2 separate regions of the Homo sapiens genome follow, and region 2 is linked to region 1. The links are contacts of gene promoters, found by promoter capture Hi-C in human tissues and cell types (Jung and others, 2019). All regions are on one chromosome and are shown on one strand. Each heading gives the region's core, a stretch centred on a gene start or on the middle of the fragment in contact. The rest is flanking DNA. Distances are from core to core; before and after follow the strand shown. Region 1 holds the start of DBH (dopamine beta-hydroxylase). Region 2 overlaps ADAMTSL2 (ADAMTS like 2).

Region 1 (5,240 bases), core at 569-3,068:
CACCTCTGCCTCTGCTGGCTTTTGTTATCCCGTGCTGGGAACACCAGTGCCTGCCCACCCCGGAGGCTCTTCGTATCACCGGCTCGCTGTGGCCGCTCCCCAGTCCCGAGAGTGAATGTCCGGGATGCAGCAGACACCTGCTTACAAGGCACAGGTGAGGAGGTTTTGGAACTAATCTGAGGCATGAAGGTGAGGTGCTCTCAGGCGACGGAGGTGGCATGTCCTGATGGGAAAGCCAGGCCTTCGGAGGCTGAGACCCTTCCCAAGGCTCACCAGAGAACTCCCAAGAGTGTCTTTCCCCTGGCCTGGGAGACAATTTCACACCAATGCCACACTCTATTGCACAGGTGATTATGCACTTGGACCTCACCTGCCTGGGCTGTGGGTGGGGGCGAACGGTGCCCCTCTGGGTGCAATCAGTGGGGAGGGGCTCATGGCCTGAGCTTGGCTTTGCAGGATGGCCTGGCCACTGTGGGGCAGAGAGCACTGCCTGCGAGGGCCAGGGGAAGGCTGGCACTTTCTCCAAATTTCACGTTCGTGCAAAGACACAGTCATTCCTTTCTACAGCGTAGAGCTCAGAGCTGAAGCAGCCTCCAGACCTGCTGTCATGGGTATTTAAGGACCTAAATGTTGCTGTCAGCCTATGACATGAATGTGCCCCTAAGGCTAGATTCTGGGTTTCTCCAGAGAGACGAGAAACAGGAGGGAAAAGGAAGGAAGGGAGGGAGGAGGCTGGGGAGGAGGGACAGCTTCTAGTCCAGCTGGAGAGATCTGTCAACCCAGCCTGGGGGGTGGAGCTGGAGGGATCAAGCAGAATGTCCTGAAGGCAGCTGCCCTCAGTCTACTTGTGGGAGAGGACAGGAGGGAGAGGTGCCGTGGTGAGACTGACCCTCGGGCCCACGGGTGGATGATGGCAAAGGTCCTGTGGCAGGTGTGGGAGAAGCAGGGCTGCGGCCAGCTGCCCTGAGAGGCTTCAAATTCAGGCCAGATCTGCTCTGGGCAAGAGGAAGCTGTGGGTTTGGGAGCTTCAGAGACAGGGGAGCAGGCCTGTCACTCACCCTCTTTTCCTTAAAGGCTGTCACCCCCAGCAGTGCACCCTGCAGCCTGCCTATCCCCTGTGCAGCTCCAGCTCCGTCTGTCCCCAGCAATGCACCCCACGCCCATGTCCCCCACTCCCTATGATGCTCTCGCGCCTTCTGGAGCAGCAGTGGTACCAGCTGGAGGCTGTGGAAAAATTGAGAGGAGACAAAAGTGGGAAGAGCAGGCCGTGGAGAGAGTGTCTAAACACAGGGACTATTTGGAGATTGTCTTATTTTTGGTTTGAAATGGGCCCACCTGCTAGTATTGTACAAACGGCTCTGCTCGCTAGGCCAGGCCTGCAGTGGCTACGGGCCTATCCTTCACTGGTCAGCCTGGAGCAGCTCCTCGGACCTCAGTCTGCTCATCCGTGGGTAGAGGCGACGCAGACCCCATCCCACTGGGGACTGGGCCAGACAGCCTGTGAGGCAGTCAGCTGGTGCCTGGCCAGAGGGTGTCTGAAAGGCCTCTTGGCTGCAGGGTGCATCTGCTTTTGGGACAGCTCTTCAGAGCCATCTCAGAAGGGACAGCATCCGCCTGTCTACTTCAACTCCCACTGATGACGTCCATGTGTCATTAGTGCCAATTAGAGGAGGGCAGCAGGCTGAGTGCTTGGCCTGGGGCGCAAGCTTGTGGGAGGGAAAATTGGATTCCCCGCTAGACAAATGTGATTACCCGTGCTGCCTGGACCCACCCCATTCAGGACCAGGGCATAAATGGCCAGGTGGGACCAGAGAGCTCACCCCAGCCATGCCCGCCCTCAGTCGCTGGGCCAGCCTGCCCGGCCCCAGCATGCGGGAGGCAGCCTTCATGTACAGCACAGCAGTGGCCATCTTCCTGGTCATCCTGGTGGCCGCACTGCAGGGCTCGGCTCCCCGTGAGAGCCCCCTCCCCTATCACATCCCCCTGGACCCGGAGGGGTCCCTGGAGCTCTCATGGAATGTCAGCTACACCCAGGAGGCCATCCATTTCCAGCTCCTGGTGCGGAGGCTCAAGGCTGGCGTCCTGTTTGGGATGTCCGACCGTGGCGAGCTTGAGAACGCAGATCTCGTGGTGCTCTGGACCGATGGGGACACTGCCTATTTTGCGGTGAGTCTCTCCTCCCTGCCAGCTCTCCAAACCCTTCCTGACCCGGCACCCCATCTGGCCGTCTTTCTGCACTCACCCTCCTTAACCCAGAAAGTTCTTCTGTCACCTGTCAGTGTTTGAGTTGACTCTGCTCTGAGCCAAGTCTGCACCCCGAGCTTGGGCATCATGGGGATCTCAGTTTGAGGACAAAATAGGAAAGACATGCTTTCCATGGTCCTTGACTGCCCGCCCCAAATCATGGGACCCAGTAATCCCAAGGAATGGAACTATACACAGAGGACGCACACACCACACACACTCGTGCCGCTCCACACCCCACACGCGCATGAGCACAGACCCCACGACCCTCGGCCCTGTAAACAATGCCTAGTACCACGTCCCCAGAGCACACATGCCCACTGATGTGGGCCAGGTGGTGGCGCGTGGCTGGGCACAGCATGAGGCCTGCACACCCATGGGATCCAGCCTGACCTACTGTGCTTGTACCCGTGGACCAACTGAGCAGGTGCAGACACCCTGCCCCTACCCATAGGTGTTGAACAAGCCCCACAGGGCTCAGCCAAAACTGTTAGGATGGGCTCTTGACTCCTTTCCGTCCAAATTTACCTCCACTCTTGTTTCACAGGGTGGAGAAAGGGGAAAAGTTTCCCTTCAAACTGGAGGGGACTTTAGGCCCTTCCACAAGCTGCAGGGGGTCCCCGAAGTGGGCGAGCCCACCGCCTACAATGGGTCCTGCTCCAGCCTTCCTTTCCACATGGGACTGGCCACCAGGGCTTCTTTGTGGATGAAACCCAACTCTCTCCACAGAAACACACAAAGGAGTGACAAAAAAGTTTTATTTCTGAAGTCAGGAGGTGCCTGCTTTATCTGGGAGTGCCGAGCTGGAGCGGGGGAGCTGTGTCTGTGCGGAGCGGCCGGCTCCAGCTCTGCATCTTGGTCTCACCATGGGCTGGTGGGGCGGAGAGTCCCTCTCTGCCTTTTTGGGTGTTGTGAATTCATGAGGGCAGATGGTGGCTGCTGTTTCTGGAGCTGAGCTTGCCCCCTCCAATTCCCAAGACTCGGCCAGGAGGCACTTGCCTGTGTCGCTAGTGAGGCTTAGGGCCACCCAGGTAGGGTGAGTGGAGCTGCCTGGGAAGGGCCCTGCTCTGACCCATAGGGCTGCACAGATTCCTGTGCACAAAGACACTCTGTGGCTCAGGTTCCAGCCAAGAAAGACCTGGGACAGCCCTGATTCTGAGCCGTCAGCCGTCTGGAGGAGCAGCTGAACCCCATCGCTGACAGTTTGGGGTTCTTCGCAAGCCTCTGCCATGAGGCACCCTGAGTGCAGGAGCATTTGCTCCTCTCTGGGGCAGCGTCCCCCCTGCCTGCATTTCCCGGCTGCTAGGGAAGCCAGAGGAAGCCAGGTGACTTTGCCTTTCCGTGCACTGGCAAGGTTAATTTGCACAACAAATTCCTACGAAAGCAAATGTCAGCCTTATTATTCCTCCCTAAGCAATATGTTCAACTAATATCTTCTTGATTTCCAGCTGAAATATCACAGGCGAACTTTCTGCCTCTGTTTAAAATGAGTCTCTCGGCAAACCAGCGGTGTCCCCAGCGGGGTTGCATTGTGTGGCTTTTTTCTCTAGGGAAAGTTTTGCAGTATCTTTTGCAGATTTCTTTTTTCTCAAGGAAATGAAGAAAAGATGTTTTACCCTGAATGTAAGATTAAAAAGAAACACAACCCAAAGTCCTTAAGGCCAAGGGCCCGAGGCTTTCTTGGGGTTTCCATGGGAAAGGCCAGGCAGGGCAGGGAAGCAGCTTCGTTTGGACAATTCTGGTGGGCTCTGGGTGGCTGGGGTGGTCTCTAGTTGCCTGGTTCCTGGCCCTAGGGTGTTTTAGGGTTGGGGCAATATTGGCCTGGGGTGTGAGAGTCAGGTGGAGGAGGTAGCTAGGGATATGGGCTTGGTGTGGGTCGGAATGTTAGGAATATGATTCTCACACACGTGTGAATGTTGGAGGGCAGGACAGGTGTAAACAACTCTGACCATCTGTTTGAGCCTTCAATCAATTAATAGATGCCAAATAGACAAATATGGAATCTAAGAAGGGCCCTTCTTGAGTACGAAGGGCAGCCTGCTTGTTGGGGAAGGCTCCTCGCTGTCTCTCAGTGGGTCTCCCTGGTGGTCTTCCATGTGACCTGGCCTCGGGCCACCGTGTCCCTGCCCCTTAGGGCCCAGTGCAAGGGGAGCGGCCGGAGACGGGGAGGGCAGAGGTCACTGATCCAGATCCCAGGAAGCATCCTCGGAGAATGCAGCAGGTCCAATGCCTCCCTGGGCCTCAGTTTACCTTCTCCAAGCAGGGCTGGGACTAAGGTGAGGGGAACAATGCCTAGGCTGCAGGGTTTAAAGTGGTGCTTCAGGCTGGGTGTGGTGGCTCATGCCTGTAATTCCAGCACTTTGGGAGGGCAAGGCAGGAGGACCGCTTGAGGCCAGGAGTTCAGGACCAGCCTAGGCAACATAGCGAGACCCTATCTCAAAAAAAAAAAAAAAAAAATCCAAAATTACATGTATTTATAAAGTAATAAAGCAGTGCTTGTTCTCAGGGTTGTGCCAGTGCAGGGTGGGCACCTGCTATCAATCACCATCTTAGATGTGGCACCCTGGTTTCTCTCTCCTTTCCTGTTCATGTCCCACCCTGTTCCCAACTCTCCCCTTTCTGAGGCTCCGCAACTCTCCTGCCTGCATGAATGTGGGCAGCATTGGTCTGAGGCATTGTTCCCAGTCTTGAGGAGGCCTTGGGAGCCTCAGGCATCTTCTTAAGAAGCTCAGTGTCCCGCCCGCCAGGCCCGGGAATGCCCATGGCTAACAGAACCTGTGACCTGCTGGCAAGTGACAGCCCTGGTTCCTGGCTGCAGAGGAGGAACCAACTCCACTGTCGGGGCTCATCTCCACTGTCTCCAGGCAGAAATGGAGATAGAAGGTGTGAGTGAAGCCACAGCCCCAGGCAGAACCCTCAGATCCACAGGGACTGAGGCCCAGCATCCCCAGATCAGCTGGCAATGAATGCGGAGCTCTGCCGGGGAATGCCCTCTT
Region 2 (5,491 bases), core at 1,202-3,701, 77 kb before region 1:
CACTGGTGTTTGGTTTTGTTTTCTGAGGTCCAACCCAAGCCCTTTGACTTTAGACGCAAGCATGAACTGAACCCGGCCTGGGCTGGGAGTGCTGAGTGGGTCTTCCTTGGGGCTCAGGGACTGAATTTGATGGGAGATTCAGGGTTCACTCTCGAGGTGATGTGGTTTGGGGCCACCCTCCCACCCATCCAGCCCTGGGACCAGAGCAACAAAGCCAACCTCCCTGGTGAGCCAGGAGCCCCAGGGGATGCCTGCCGCTTTTCTCAAACTGTTTTCTGAGGCCACCGAGGTGCCTGGGGCTGCGGGGTGCAGGGAGGATGTCCTGAGCACTTCTGGCAGGCTCTGGGCGGAATCCTACTTTGCAGATGTGGACAGAGTGGGGCCTCGGAGCCTCCTCTGGCTGCCCCTCTTCCCACAGGGGTGGCACAGGGCTGTCTGCTCACCCTTTACCTTGGCATGCTCAAAGCCTTGGGTAGGTGGGGCCTGTGGCTGGTTCTCAGGACTCGGGCGGGGAGGGCCGGGCCTTGCTTTGGGTATAGTGTCTGAGTCTGAGAGGGGGTCCTGGGTAAAGGGCAGGAGGGACGGACCCAGACAGTGCCTGCCTGTGGGAACGGCACTACTCAAGGCTGCCAGTCTGTCTGTGTCTTCAGCGTGGGCCCTCTTCACCTCCCAGGGCAGTCCGGGGCATTCCCTGGTATTCCGTGTGTGAGGCCCACGGTAAGGCCTCCAGTAAGTAGAAGCTATTAGTAGAAAACTGAGCCTCCAAGTGGCAGCAGTGGGGGGTGCCTTTCAGGACCCACTGCCTGGGTCAGGGAGGCCAGCTCTCCGGCAGTCACGGCCCTCCAAATAGAATAGGTTTATCAGAGTGGCACCGAGGCCTCGCTGTGGAATTTGGCTTAAGGCATGGACACTGTGTGAGTTGAGCATCTCTGTCTTCCTCTGGGCCTCAGTTTCCCCATCTCTCACTGGGGGGCTTGTCAGGGGCTGCCCTTTGGGCCCACCAGGTCAAATATTCAGTGATCCTTAGGCCAGGGTCATGGCACAAGCTTACGGATCCTCAAGCCGCTTTGTAAAGAGTCTCTCCTGCCCCATCTTGGTTGACTCTTACCCTCCCCTCTTAGCCCCCCGCCCCAGGATATATTGAATTTCCAGGGCCTGTCAGGGGCCTCAAGGGTCGATCAACTAGGCTGTCAGCACTCAGAAAGGCCCTGACTGCTGAGATGCCGCTGCTCCCCCGGCCGGCCTGCCATCAAAGGATGCTGCCGCACAGGGACCAAAGATGGTGTGGAGAGATAAAGGGCAGAGGGAGGCGGCGGGGGAAACCACCAGGCCAAAATAGCCACGTCTCGGCCGAGTTGTCCAAACACAGGAAGTCGTGTCTGCTCAGAGAAGGCAAAATCAAAGGGGCAGCCCAGAAAGGAAAGGCTATTTTCATCTTTCCAGAAAAGCTTCAAACAATCAAGGGAGGGGCCCCTGTCACCAGACTCCGACTTTGGGAACAAGCTTCTGAGACACAGAGACGCGGAGTCCCTCTCCGCAGCCTTGGGGGGAGAGAAGAACAGAGCACTTTCTGGCTTGTTTATAAACAAACACGGTGGCTTCAGAGCTTCTCCTGCCTGGGGAGCCCGTGAGCCTGTGTCTGGCCGGGCATCTGGGCGAAGGACCCTGAGGAGTGACAGGTGGTCTGGTGGTGACTCCACAGCCGTCACCAGCCCCAGTCTAGCAGCTCTGACTTTCACAGCTGAGAGGGGCAGTGACTTCCTTCCAGATGGAGGAGAGCGACGGTTTGGTGCTTCAGCGATTTCCTTGGTGTTCCGCTTCCCTGTGCTACTTCCAAGAACGGAACCTGCTAGGCGTTGCATTGTTGTGCAAATATATGCAGGGTTATGTTCAAGAGTTGCATCTGCTATGCCCCACACGTGCTGCTGCGAAGAGTGTGTGGGCAGCCCCTCCAGAAATACCTTTGGTGCTTAAAATCCAAAGGGTTATTTTGAACCGGGCCCGCTCTCTCTTGAGTCAGGCATGAGTCATGCTGCCTGCTGGCTCAGAGCATGTAATTAGATAAAGATGGCGGAGCGTCTCCATGGGTGGGGTGGAGGGGCATGGGTTGGATCTTTTCATCTCTTTTTGTTCTTGGGGAGAATTTAAAGCTGTTGAAAGTAGGTGGGGAACTGGTCAGCACAGTTTAGTGTTTTCTGAATCGAACATTAAGGACTGGTCTTCCGGGTTCTCCGTTCCCTGAAAGGACTTACTTATCCTGATCTGGGTGCTCTGAGTGGCCCCCATTGGGGCAGTTTTCCAGGTTTCCAGGGAACTTTTGTTCTGAGATGACAGGGTCTTGGGAAACCCCCCACCCACCCCCATTTTTTTTTTTTTTTTGAGACGGAGTCACTCTGTTGCTCAGGAGTGCAGTGGTGTGATCTCGGCTCACTGCAAGCTCTGCCTCCCAGGTTCATGCCATTCTCTTGCCTCAGCCTCCTGAGTAGCTGGGACTACAGGCGCCCGCCACCACACCCGGTGAATTTTTTTTTTTTTTTGTATTTTTAGTAGAGACGGGGTTTCACCATGTCAGCCAGGATGGTCTCGATCTCCTGACCTCGTGATCCACCCGCCTCGGCCTCCCAAAGTGCTGGGATTACAGGCAAGAGTCACTGCGCCTGGCCCCCACCCCCATTTTTAAAGCTTCCTCTAAGTTCTGAAAGAGGGAGGAGAAGGCACTCTTCCCTTCCCCTTGAGCCCCAGGATGGGACAGACTCTCCTGGCTTGAAGCTCCCAGGTGAAGGAGGCTTTGAAGAAACAGTGGGACCAGCCCCCAGCCCGCAGCCCTTCCTGGGCCTTGGTCCCCATGCCTTCTCCCTTCACTCCTCTTCTCCCTCCCTGAGTTTAGGGAGCCACACCAGTGAACTCACTGCTGAAGCTCCTGTGGGTAGATCATTCCTGGGGCCTCAGATGTGTGGTCAAGGCAGCGTTCATCCCCACAAATACTGCCTGGCTGTGGGATCCTCCCATTCCAGTCCAAGCAAAACAGAAGAGCAATGCTCACCCGCTTGCCTAACACATTGTAAACTCCCCATTCAATCCAAACCCATGTCTGTATCACGGAGTCAATCTGAAAGCCTTTCTGAATATAATGCTCTAAGCCTGACCACCCCCAGGTGACTGAAGGTCCTGAAGAAGGACCTGTGACCTGGCCCACGTTTCAGCCCAGTGAAGTATGGCGGCTTGGGGTCATCTCTAGCCAGCCCCTCTGGGCCCAGAGGAAAGTGGAGTTGGGCAATGCCACCTGCTGCACTGTCCAGTTTAAAAAGGAAGTCGAGGCTCGAAGGACCTGCTGTCCACCGCGCCGGCTTGCCATCGCCCCTTCTCTGGCTCAGGGGCGGCGGGACTCCATGGTGGCGTCCCAGAGCAGATGCCCGGGCTGTGGAGCTGCTGCCGCCTCTGCTTCCCTCCTCCCCTGCCGAGTCCAGAATGAGCCTGCACATTGGATGTGGAGGTTGGGCCCAGGCACACCTACTGGTTCAAAGAAGCAAACAGTCCTAACAATAGTTGGCTTTGGCTGCATAGGCTCCAGCCAAGAATCATAGCTGGTGGCTGGCTGGGACCCAGCGTGCCTCCCCCGACCCCAGCAGGTCCGTGCAGCCATGGCCTGCCTGAATTGCACTGTAGGCTCGGCCCCTGCCAGCAGCCGAGCTTTTTAATTTTGATAATTGGAGGCTGGATGCCTAGTGTCCCCCATTCCATCAGAGTCCCAGCTGGAGGAGGGGGTGGGAGAGAATTCTGGAACATTCTTAGCACATAAGACACCTTCTGAGGTCCCCTCCCCGGTGGGAAGAAGGAACCCACTAGCTGATGTGAGAAGGTAATATTGAGAAGCCTGCGTGTGTGCAGGGAGCAACTACAGTGCTGGGGGCCCCAAATTCTCAGGCCACCCCTCCCCTCCGGAAGGAGCTCGGGCAGCTCCCATGCAGTTGAGATGGAAAACAATGCCAATCAATCCTAAAATGTGCCCCTCTGCGGGCGCCTCATCCGTTCCACTTCAGACAGTGGGAACTCTGACCGTAGCAGGTGGAGGGTCGGCCCGGGGCTCAGGACAGGTGTGTGCTTCAGGCGAACATACCCTCCGAAGAAAACTCCCTCGCCTGAAAAGCCGGAGCCTGCCGGTGGGGCCTGGAGCGTCTCATCACCTTCCCTGCTTGGTCTCGCTTTCAGGACCAGGCCCAAGGCGCGCAAGCAAGGCGTGAGTCCCGCGGACATGTACCGGTGGAAGCTCTCGTCCCACGAGCCCTGCAGTGCCACCTGCACCACAGGTACTGGTCACGGGTGCCAAGGGGCAGCAACTGCCCTGAACCCATTTCCATGGACATGGGCTGGGGCTGTGGGGCCCACCCACTAGCTTGCAGCCCCCAAACTGCCCTCGGGGTGCTTGTCCGTGGCCTCCTGACTTGGGGGCAGTGTGGCGTGATAGGAGTTTGGGTGTCTGGTGAGGCCACCCTCATTCTCACAGTGTGCTAGACCATGGTCAGGTCCAGGCCCCTGGGGGTCATCCGGGCTACCACCCATTGGTGGTAGCCCTTGTCTGTTGCCAGTGATACCATGTTTTGTTAGGGCAAACATCCTTTGGGTTAAAAGTAAGAAATCTTAGGTAGCAGAGATTTTACTTTTGCTTCCAGCAAACATAGGAAGGGAGTCATAGGCCCCTGTGATCTGTGACGAAGGGAAGTAGGCAAATTCTAGGACCTCATCAGCAGGGGAGAAGTTAGGAGGGGAAAAAAGACCCTCCTCGGTGGTGCCTGGACAGACAGATGTGTGTGGTTAGTAAGAGTTGAGCTGGGATTTGAACCCACAGCTGTCTGGTTGCACGGCCACCATCGCCCTGAGACGCTGGCCACAGCCGCTAGAGCTGGAGCTGCCTCTGCTGCCCACTCTAGTACCCTCCCCTGGGGGATGCCGCGAGGTCTGATGTCAAACCCAGGATCAGGATACAGGGCCGTTGATGGGAGAAAATATGGCAGGGAGACCCCAGTGCCGGCTGTGAGGTCACATTTTATCTATTCTTGGGGCTTCATGTTTGGATGTAGAGGATACCCAGCTGGCCCTCAAAAGGTTTGATGCTCCTGGTCCCGCCCCAGTGCCACCCATTTGCCAGGGCATTTGATGCCCTTGCAGTCTCTGGCCAGTGAGGATTCCACACAGCTGGGCAGTCTGAGCTTGGCCGCACCCTCTGCAGCCCTGCTGGCATCTCAGGAGATGGGCCCGAGAGAGGGAGGGGCTGGGGCGGCCCTGCAGGCTCTGCTCACACTGGCCTTGCCTCTCTGGGACTGAAGAAAGGGCTCTGCCTCCTGTTACAAGAGCCCCCAAACAGGGCATAGCCATGGGGCATGCTGTGTTCGCCCCTGCGCCTGGCATCCTGGAGGGAAAAAGCAAGTGCTGTGGGCGGCGTGGCGGGCACCCGGCTCGGCCAGGCTCGCACCGCCGTGGGCGGCGTGGCGGG

The links. The method cuts DNA at HindIII sites, captures the fragments that hold promoters and counts their contacts. A contact is called where the count stands out against the background at its distance.
Region 2: a fragment that was not itself captured here is called in contact with the fragment with the promoter of DBH in region 1 in 3 of the 25 tissues and cell types used here (H1 embryonic stem cells, IMR-90 fibroblasts and dorsolateral prefrontal cortex).

What each region holds. Positions count from the first base shown.
Region 1 is chr9:133,634,545-133,639,784 of GRCh38, forward strand. It overlaps DBH (dopamine beta-hydroxylase), which reads left to right and starts at 1,819. Exons shown (of 12, transcript NM_000787.4): 1 at 1,819-2,166. The coding sequence starts at 1,828. RefSeq lists an enhancer at 3,084-3,819. The HindIII fragment of the contact is 16,885 bases long and covers 1-5,240 here.
Region 2 is chr9:133,556,989-133,562,479 of GRCh38, forward strand. ADAMTSL2 (ADAMTS like 2) reads left to right here. Exons shown (of 19, transcript NM_014694.4): 12 at 4,210-4,307. Among named protein-coding and RNA genes, the nearest start is that of ADAMTSL2, 25 kb to the left of the region's middle. RefSeq lists an enhancer at 1-358. The HindIII fragment of the contact is 5,763 bases long and covers 1-5,333 here.